Regions from separate parts of the Homo sapiens genome. Here region 1 is linked to region 2. The links are contacts of gene promoters, found by promoter capture Hi-C in blood cells and fetal thymus (Javierre and others, 2016). All regions are on one chromosome and are shown on one strand. The core of a region is centred on a gene start or on the middle of the fragment in contact, and the rest is flanking DNA. Distances in the headings are between cores, read along the strand shown. Region 1 overlaps LINC02839 (long intergenic non-protein coding RNA 2839). Region 2 holds the start of RALYL (RALY RNA binding protein like).

Region 1 (4,920 bases), core at 961-3,460, 2.0 Mb after region 2:
AGGCTGTACAAGCATGGCTTCAGCATCTGCTTGGCTTCTGGTAAGGGAATTCCATATGAATATAGAATAGCTCATCCTGCCCAACTGAAACTACCATAACAGTGAGAACTATGTTGTAATGTGAATAGAATTTATTTGATGATTTCTAAAAACAAATTGACTTTTGTTTTCCAGTTATTATCAGAAAAAGAAGGACATGAAATATCACTGACTACTAGTAACTTTTACTTAATACATGAGATTCATGAAGGAAATGTATCTTTTCCAGGCTGAAAATTTCACTATCACTACCAATATGGGTAAAATTATCACACCTTCCCTTAGGTGTGAATATGCCTAGATAATATTCTAGAGTTACCATATATTATTGTAAGATATACACTGTAAAGGAAAAAGCATCATGCCAAAAAGATCATGGCATTCAGGCAGCCCAGAAGTCAGGACTGGTGGAGCCACCCTGAAATCCTCAGTCGCCTTTAACACACACACAAGATGGTTTCATCTCAGAAACAAATTCCACACTTCCCTTTCCTCTCCATTTCATGGCCAGTGCTGTTCCTCAAATGTTTATCATGCCCTGGATCGAGTATTAACTGTGTCACTCTTTTTCAGTCTTCCCTTACTGTAGGTAATCCTTTATCACATCACGTTATCATTGTTATTCATGTTGTCACTGTCATCTTTGGTGAAACTCCAAATGAAACCACTCTGCTCCCACATGGCCCACTCCTTTACTTTCCAGCCACTCAGTCTTTCTTATTGCTTCTCAAACAAATCATATATTCTTTTTTTTTTCTTTTTTTAAAAGACAGGGTCTCAATCTGTTGCCCAGGCTGGAGTGCACTGACATGATCTTAGTTCATTGCAACTCTGCTTCCTGGGCTCAAGGGATCCTCCCACCTCAGCTTCCCAAGTAGCTGGGACCACAGGCATGTGCCACCAAGTCCAGCTATTTTTTGTATTTTTTGTACAGATGAGGTTTCACCATGTTGCCTGGGATGGTCTCAAACTCCTGAGCTCAAGCATCCACCCACTTCAGCCTCCCAAAGTGCTGGGATTACAGGTGTGAGCTACCATACCCGGCAAATCATATATTCTTTAACTTTATTTGTGTTTTGTTTCCTCCGAATGAAATAATTTTACTTCTGTTCATGATGAACATTTTTCTGTCTGTGGTCTTCTTAATAAGAAAAAAAAACCATCCTACTTCCCTGCTCGTTTAATAGCAGTTGAATTGTATCTGTCTTCTTCACCAGACGAAAGATTCTCAAAGAACTCTTGTTCAACTTTACATCCTCCTCTATATCCAACACCATGATATAGTATCCTAACATAATATGCATTCAAGGAATACTTGTTGAATAAATCATTAGGCTGAATAATGTCCTATAATTTTTGTACTAGAAAATAATGTCGTTTGTATGTGAACTAAATACTTGAGTATTAGGTATGTTTTTTTCTAGACGAGTTCAAGTATTTTCTCTCCTCTTCAGAATGTGATCTAACTGAGAAACTGTGTGAAGAGTGACTTTACAATAGCGAAAAGTAGGAAAAGAGGAAGACAATCACTCATACTTGAGTTAGACATAAACACAGATTCTTAGATCTAAAGACTATTTGAAATAAAACCAATGTGTAATTTTTAAATTAATTCCATACTTTTTTGAGTATCCAGAGTAGAAATTAGCTTCTTAAAAAGAAAAAGAAATTCATTATCTATCACAAACCAAACAACTAGCTAGAAATATACAACTTCAGGAAAGTATGACTTTCACTCCTGAGTGCTACTTGATAAATTCTGTCTAAGATCTTATGCATCATTTATCTTTATTTTGGTCTCCACTGATTCATTCATTCACCCAGTAAACATACTGTGTTTCTATCTGTTTATAAAAGCTTAGGCTCAAACCTGAGGTTTGCATCCCTCTTCCCACACTCTCACTGGGAATCAAGGAGCCATAATTCCAATATATGAGAATTATGAAATCAAGGAGCCATAATTCTAAAACGTGAAGTGTTTATCAGAGAGAGTAGGTCAGGTGTGGGAGGAAGAGAGGGTACTAGTCACTTCACTGAGATTTTAGAATAAGGATGTGAGTAGTGAGATACAAAGCCCAGGAGTTGAGAGAATGCTAAAAATAATCCACTTCATAACACTTGTAGGCTTATTCTCAATCTATAAAATATGAATTAATTAACTCTGAATTGAAGCCTCCACTAACACCACCTTAGAGGAAAAAACAGCCAGAGTCATAAAAGTGGCACCAAGGAAAGTGGGGCATTTTCTATACTATAGGCAAGAACTGACTTTTTAGCCACCAGAACTGTTCAAAGAATAGAGGACATCCCTGAAGAAAAATATCACATGAAGAGGACTCCACAAAGAATTTAGAAAACCCAACCCAAAATTTCTGCATTCCAATTTATTCATTCATTTATTCAACATTTATTCATAATTACTGTATTCACCACAAGGGACATAGAAATACACAATAGACATAACCTTTGCCCTCATAAAGCTTATAATACAGTAATAGAAATATTAATTGATCAGTTAACCAAAAACAGACATAATTCTATTTTTGTTCATTGAACACATAATCATATTTAGTGGAATGCAATCAATCATCTGGTGGGCCAAAACATAGAAAGTAAACTGACTTAAATAAGGAGAACTTTTTATTTATTTAATGAAGTTAATGCCTACTATATGTCAGACATAACAATGGATTCAGTGGGGAGAGTAAAAAGCATGTACAAGACAGAGTCCCCTATCCTGCACATAGTATATGGCTTAATAGGAAAAACTGGCATAGATATCAACACACACACCTATAGTATGATGTGATAGCAAGGACATATAATAGAGCCCTTTGCACATTATCTCTACTGTATGTACACATAGAAAAAGCAATCAGAATACAGAGAAAAAAATTTTTTTTTAATTTCAATAGTTTTGGGAAAACAGATGGTTTTTTGTTACATAGATAAGTTCTATAGTGGTAATTTCTGAGATTTTGGTGCCCTCATCACCCAAGCAGTGTACACTGCCCAATGTGTAAACTTTTATCTCTCATCCTCCCCCACTACTTCCCCCCAAATCCCCAAAGTCCATTATATCATTCTTATGTCTTTGCATCCTCATAGTTTAGCTCCCACTTATAAGTGAGAACAAGGAATATTTGGTTTGCCAGTCCTGAGTTACTTCACCTAGAATAATGGTCTCCAATCCCATCCAACTTGCTGCAAATGCCATTATTTCGTTCCTTTTTATGACTGAATAGTATTCCATGGTGTATATATATCACATTTGTTATATGCACTCATTGATTGATGGGCACTTGGGCTGGTTTCATGTTTTTGCAATTGCAAATGTTGTAACTATAAACATGTGCGTGCAAGTGTCTTTTTCATATAATTAATTCCTTTTCTCTGGGTAGATACCCAGTAGTGGGATTGCTGGATCAAATGGTAGTTCTACTTTTAGTTCTTTAAGGAATTTCCACACTGTTTTCCATAGTGGTTGTATCAGTTTCATTCCTACAAGCAGAGTAAAAGTGTTTGGTTTTTACCACATCCACACCAACATCTATTTTTTTTTTATTTTTAAATTATGGCCATTCTTGCAGGAGTGAGATAGTATCACATTACAGCTTTAATTTTCATTTCCCTAATAATTAGTGATGTTGAGTATTTTTTCATATGTCTGCTGACCATTTGTATATCTTCTTTTGAGAATTATCTATTCATGTCCTTTGCCCGCTTTTTGATGGGGTTATTTGTTTTTTTCTTGCTGATTTGTTTGAGTTCCTTGCAGTTTCTGAATATTAGTTCTTTGTGGGATGCATACTTTGCAAATATTTTCTCACATTCTGTGGGTTGTCTGTTTACTCTGCTGATTATTTCTTTTGCTGTGCAGAAGTTTTTTAGTTTAGTTACATCCCATCTATTTATTTTTGTTTTTGTTGCATTTGCTTTTGGGTTCTTGGTCATGAAGTCTTTGCCTATGCCAACAACTAGAAGAGTTCTACTGATGTTATCTTCTAGAATTTTTATGCTTTCAGGTCTTATATTTAAGTCTTTGATCCATCTTGAGTTGAATTTTGTATAAGGTGAGAAATGAGGATCCAGTTTCATTCTTCTACATGTGGCTTTTCAATTATCCCAGCATCATTTGTTGAATAGGGTGTCCTTTCCCCCCCTTTATATTTTTGTCTGCTTTGTCAAAGATCAGTTGGCTGTAAGTATTTGGCTTTATTTCTGAGTTCTCAATTCTGTTCCATTGGTCTATGTGCCTATTTTTATACCAGTATTATGCTGTTTTGGTAACCATGGCCCATAGCCTTGTAGTATAGTTTGAAGTTGGGTAATGTGATGCCTCCAGATTTGTTCTATTTGCTTAGTCTTGCTTTGGCTATGCAGGGTCTATTTTGATTCCATATGTACTTTAGGATTGTTTTTTTCTAGTTTTGTGAAGAGGGATGATGGTACTTTGATGGGAATTGCATTGAATCTGTAGATTACTTTTGACAATATGGGCATTATTACAATATTGATTCTACCCATCCATAAGCATGGGATGGGTAGAATCAATATTGATTTCATATTTCCATTTGTGTTTCCGTTTGTTTGTGTCATCAATAATTTCTTTCAGCAGTATTTTGTAGTTTTCTTTGTAGAGATCTTTTACCTCCTCGGTTTGGTATATATCCAAGTTTTTTTGTTCGTTTGTTTGTTTTCAGCTGTTGTAAAAGGGATAGAGTTCTTGATTTTATTCTCAGCTTGGTTGTTTTTGGTGTTGAAGTTTCAAGATTTAGAACTTCTTTTAGCATTTCTTGCAGTTTTGCCTTGGTATAGCAGTGCTACTGATTTGTGTACACAGAATTTGTATCCCAAAACATTACTGAATTCATTTATCAC
Region 2 (5,267 bases), core at 1,864-4,363:
TACATTGTTATAATTGAAATGATTTTTAAAATCACAGAATGTTGCAAGTGGCTTTTTTAATGTTTTATGTTAGCTGTTTGAGGCATATGAAAGACTGTATTTTAGTAATTAGCTCACTATACAAAATAAGAAAATCCTAATTTCAGGCTTAGTGCCATCATATTGGCTTCAAATCTTAGAACTATACACCTCAAGATATCAAATATGGTGTCCACAGACAGTGACATAAACTATCTTCTTTATATAAATGCAACAGGATTTCCTTCACAGAGAAAAGCTACTCGGAGAACAAAATAACTCACATACATTGTATTTCCCCGCCAGGAAATACAATGAAATGTCCAAAGACTTTTGAGATACTTGCATGAGTTGTGAATAAAAAATATATACAACTTTCCAGATATTACACTAACTTTTAATCTTCTACAGTTAAATGGCCCATTGCACGCCTTACTTTTTGACCACAAAGAGTAAAAACTAAGGCGTAAAACCTTTCATTCCACAAACTGAGGTTACAGACAGTGAAATATTTGCTTGAAAAAGCCAGTGTATGTTATAAACCCCTTTGTCATGGGCCCCTCTGTATGTTGCAGTCAGTTTTTATTTCTGTAGTTACCTAGAAGAAAACTTCATCTGAGAGGTAAAAAGTTGTTGTTTCATTTGCTTTATGTTTATTTTACAGAATTCAAAGTATATACACATGGTAATTTAAAGCTAAGCTTTTCATTTAAGGGGGGAAAAGGTAAGAAAATCAAAGCTTCAAAATCAAAGTATTTAAATAATGGTGACTCTCCAGATTTTAAGATGTATGCCTTCAGGAAATTTATTTGGACAGAAAAATTTCCAGCAGATTCGGTCACAGTGTTAAATACAGAAAAGGCTTTTTATTGCCAACTGGTACGTCTCTGAAAAGTAATGCTAAATTATACTGAAAACATGTAACAGGATAATCATAAAATATCATAGAATACATTCAACATTGAATACGTCAGTGCTACCAACACACGAAATCATCACCTCTATCACCAACCCCTCACTCCTGCCCTGTACACAGTTCTCAGGGGAAAACCTTTAGAGCCAGTATCAGGTGGTTAAAAAGAGGGAAAACTCTGCCCCTTTAACAAAATTTAAATAAAAGGCATTTTTTTAATACCTTAGAGGTGTAGGGTCATTACTGCAAACTAACAGCGTCGTCCTCAACATTAAACCCAAGTGATCATCTTATAAGAAACTATTTCCCCATCCCCTGGAAGACGACACCAGCAGGCACTTAAAACCAACGCAACACAACAGGGAAAAAAAAGATCCAAAGACAGCATCCCTAAGAAAGCAAAGCCCTTTGGTAAAGCAAAATAGGCTGGGTAGGACCTACTGCGTCGTTTACTCATTGCGAAGAGGAGGAGCAGGAGTTGAGCGTGCGAGGGCCGGTGCCATCCTCAAGGCTCTGGAAATGTCTCCAGCTCCGGCTCGCGTGGCCTGGAGCCAGCCCCTCCGGAATATGCGGTCTCTGCCGCTTCTACCCCCATCTCCCGGGTGCTCTGAGGGTCCCCTCTAGCCCGCCCGACGGCCAGCGCCACGTACACGGCCCTCGCCCCTCCTGCTGTGCAAGTGGCCCTCGGAGAACTTACAGGGCCCGCCGGCCGCCTAGTGCCCGGCCGGCGCGGCCCGCAGCGCAGACGCCACCCGCCCCGCCGGGAGACGACCTGGGCGCAGCTCACCGTGGGAGGGGTGGGGGGAGGGGACTGTATTTTGCGCACATCTAGAAAACGATCCTGAAGCAGGGAACGGACTTTGGTTTTCCCTGGCTCCCTGCGCCGCTCTCCCCACCTCGGGCTCGGACACTGCCCGGAGATGCGCGCGCGCAAACACAGACACACACACACACTCACACTCACACATTTCTTTGCTAGGACCAGTGTTGCCACTGCACACCCGGGAAACGCCTCCAAGGGGACCAAGTACCTGCTCTCTGCGAGCTGCTCAGCTGTTCACTTCATCCTCCGTTGACAAGGAAACCAAACCGCACTTCATTTTTTTTTTTCCAGAAAAACCTTCCACTGCCATCATTTGAAAATTGATTTACGGGGAGGGAAGGGGGAGAAATAAGGGACAATATAGATATAGATATCAGGATATCTATCATAAAATTATCTCGGTTTTTTAAAAAAGTCAAATGTGCAAAAGTCATAGTTAATTTAAAGGAGGAAAAAAGTATTTTGCTTAAAAATGATCCCAATCACCAGCTGTAAGAAAAGTTTCATGTTATCAATGGGTATCAAAAACAGGAGGGAAAAAAAACGAATTTGTTTTCACCGGCTTCCAAAAAGGGCACAAAAAATATAAAATTAATGTCTTTGCTCAGTGGTTTGCACCAGTATTGCAAGACCACAAACTTGTAAACACTGCCGTAAAATCCCACCTATACAAAAATGTTATCAGAAAAAGAGTATGCAAAAAAAGAGTTAGAAACATGCTTTTTATTTTTACAAAGGAAAAAAATAGGCACCATACTTCACATCGCTTTTTCCATAAAACCAGTTGCACATTTTGCTGGACTTGGGAGACGCTCCCAGCGGGCACGGTCGCCGCGGACTCCGAGACACAGCGCCTTGTCTACAGAACGATCGCATGCTAGAAAAACTTGGATTCAGGAAAAGGCTCAAAACCATGCTCCTCCAGCTTTCCCAAATATAAACAATAATCAAAGAAGTGGAAAAAAAGAAAAAAAACAAAAACAAAAAAAACAAAAAACCAAAAAAAAGGACAAAAAAAAGAATAGGACAAGAATGCCACTGAGAAGGTACTCACCGAGCGGGAGTAAAATGTTGGAATAAAAATGAGATTTAGTATAAAATACAGTATGGCGGTGGAAGAAGGAATGAAGCGCGTTTTTTTCTCGCAGTCTCTGCCTCAGGCACTGACACGTGACTCGGAGCCAGGCTGACTTGCAGGCAGCGGGGAAGGACCGAGGCTGCGAGGGGGGAAGCCCACGGAGCCCAACTCTGGCTGGCGAGGCGGCGGCGGCGGCGACGGGGAGCCTGGCGCCTGAGAGCGGCAACACCAGTGGCGGCAGCAGCGGCAGCGGCAGCTCGCGGCGAGGCTGCCTTCGCTGTGAGCCCAGACGAGCAGGTGCCCCTCACGCTGAGGCTGAGCACACGCACACGCACACGCAAGACAGGCAGGGCGCCGGCGAGAGGGGGAGCCGAGCGGGGTTGGGCCCGAGGCGCGCAGCTGCCGCCGCCTCTGCCGCTGCTGCCGCGATTGCTGCTGCTGCCTCTGTTGCTGCCGCCGCCGCCTCGCATTGGGAGTGTGTGCTGTGGGGGCAGCTCAGGGGTGCTGATCCAGCGCCTTGAGAGGAGGTGCACAACTTGCTGCTCACCTCAAAGTTGTTGCTTGCCACTTCCTTGTGTATTTCATCTATTTTTCATCTACAGGTAGTTACCTGGGGAGAGATCCCATCGTCTTCTCTCTGGAAGTTTTACTATTCAAGCCCACATTCACTCATTCATTTTGTTTGTTTGTTTGTTTGTTTCCCTGATTTTCCATTTCCCATCCCTCCCAAGCTGCCTTTGCCTCTGCTGTTCCCTCCTCCCTAGATCTGCGTTTCCCCCTCCCGGTTCTCAGGGAACCTGGCTCAGCGCGATGCTGGGGGCGTTGTCACGGGCAAAGCCACTGTCAATCTTTATTGCCATCTGAACGCACAGCCTCTCTTTCGCCGTCTTCAAGGGGAATGCTTGCAGTTTGAAAGACACAACAAAATCTCTTATTTAGGAAACCCCGTCCCGGGTTTCTTTCTGCGGGTTGCGGAGCGGTGGGTGGGGGCATGGGTGTCCTTTATTCATTCGTGGACAAGGCATTGTTTTGTCTGTGTGTGCGCCCGTGCTTCTGAGCTGGTCTGGAAAGCTCCAAGGGTCTATGCTCCATGGCAGAGACTCCTGTTTGACTCTTGCTCAAGTTGTTCGCTGAGGCTGGAAGTCAAAGGAGAGGGGCATGGGAAACAAGTGAGTCCATTGTGTGAGTGCTCGCCTGGAGGGAGCAAGCACTTGGCGGTCGAGAGGGGGAGACGTGTACCAGCAGTGAGGCGGTGGCGCACCCCGCGGGAGCCAGGTGGCTGAGCAGTGGATTCTGAAGGTGAGGGTGGCAGAGGGATTTCTCCACCCAGCGTGTGGGTTAGGGCGCTCATCGATCGCCTGAACAAAGATGCCATCAGCCAATCGCTGGGTGCATTGGGCTTCTATTACTGCCTGTTGAAGAATCAGCTTTGTGGACGCTAGAACACATCTATTTTTCTTCATTTTTGTACAATACTCACCTCAGGACCATTTCCCTGTGCTGCTTTGAATCTAGGTTGTGTGGAATTAATTGGCGTCTCTATATTTGAGAATGAGCAATTAACACAATTCTGCAGTTCAAAGATTCCTGCTCCCGATCTTTATCTCAATGTTTCCAATGCTGACGTTTCATATAAAATGCCTCCATCAGAGATGATCTAACCTCGACATTCTGAAAATTAAGTACACATCCTTCACACAGAGCTTCAGTAGCAAATATGGTCCTCAAACATTGTGCTCAGAATTCATTGGCCAAATAAAGTTTTAATCCGCAATTTAAATAAGAGATTTAAAATAGCCATTAAAATATCACTAAATATTTATTTTGGTGAGTTGCCAACTGTACACCCACTTATTATACATACTTTCCAGGGAGGACTGTTGATTAGGAATACTGACAGAGAGAGATGAATACATCAAAGTGGATTTGATAACTTTGGAAGCCTTGAGTTCTACTCGGAAATCACAGAATTTTAAGCTGGCTAATACAGATCAAATATTGTGCTCTCGCTGTAAAACATGTTGGACTTATTTTATTTTATTTTATTAAGTAAGATCTCTTTACACGTGATCTTTTTCTTCCACAAGTCCTGAATTAATTTTATCTAGGATTTAAAACTTAGTTTGTTAAATTTTCCACATTTTCTCTTCCATTTGAAAATATATCTGATTCTAAACATTTAAGAAGAAAATATTTTAATGCATATCTTTTTCCATCATTCATATCACAGTGGTATTCAAATGTGAAAAACTTCACTTTAAAAATGAGTTTTGAACCTTTCAACCAGGCTGGGAAGAGTTATTCAAGAAGAACTTTGAAAAACAAGCTATTTAGAATTACACTGCACTAATGGCTGTCAGCCAATCACAGTGATTGTCAGTCTTTTATTATTCAATAAAATGACTCCCCTTTATGTTAATGCAGCTCTGCTGAAG

What was found. The method cuts DNA at HindIII sites, captures the fragments that hold promoters and counts their contacts. A CHiCAGO score of 5 or more calls a contact.
Region 1: a fragment that was not itself captured here is called in contact with the fragment with the promoter of RALYL in region 2 in 1 of 17 cell types (total B cells); the score reaches 6.3 in total B cells.

What each region holds. Positions count from the first base shown.
Region 1 is chr8:82,134,072-82,138,991 of GRCh38, reverse strand. All of the region lies in intron 2 of LINC02839 (long intergenic non-protein coding RNA 2839), which reads left to right. Among named protein-coding and RNA genes, the nearest start is that of LINC02839, 24 kb to the left of the region's middle. The HindIII fragment of the contact is 623 bases long and covers 1,899-2,521 here.
Region 2 is chr8:84,181,120-84,186,386 of GRCh38, reverse strand. It overlaps RALYL (RALY RNA binding protein like), which reads right to left and starts at 3,113. Exons shown (of 9, transcript NM_173848.7): 1 at 1,963-3,113. The HindIII fragment of the contact is 11,643 bases long and covers 760-5,267 here.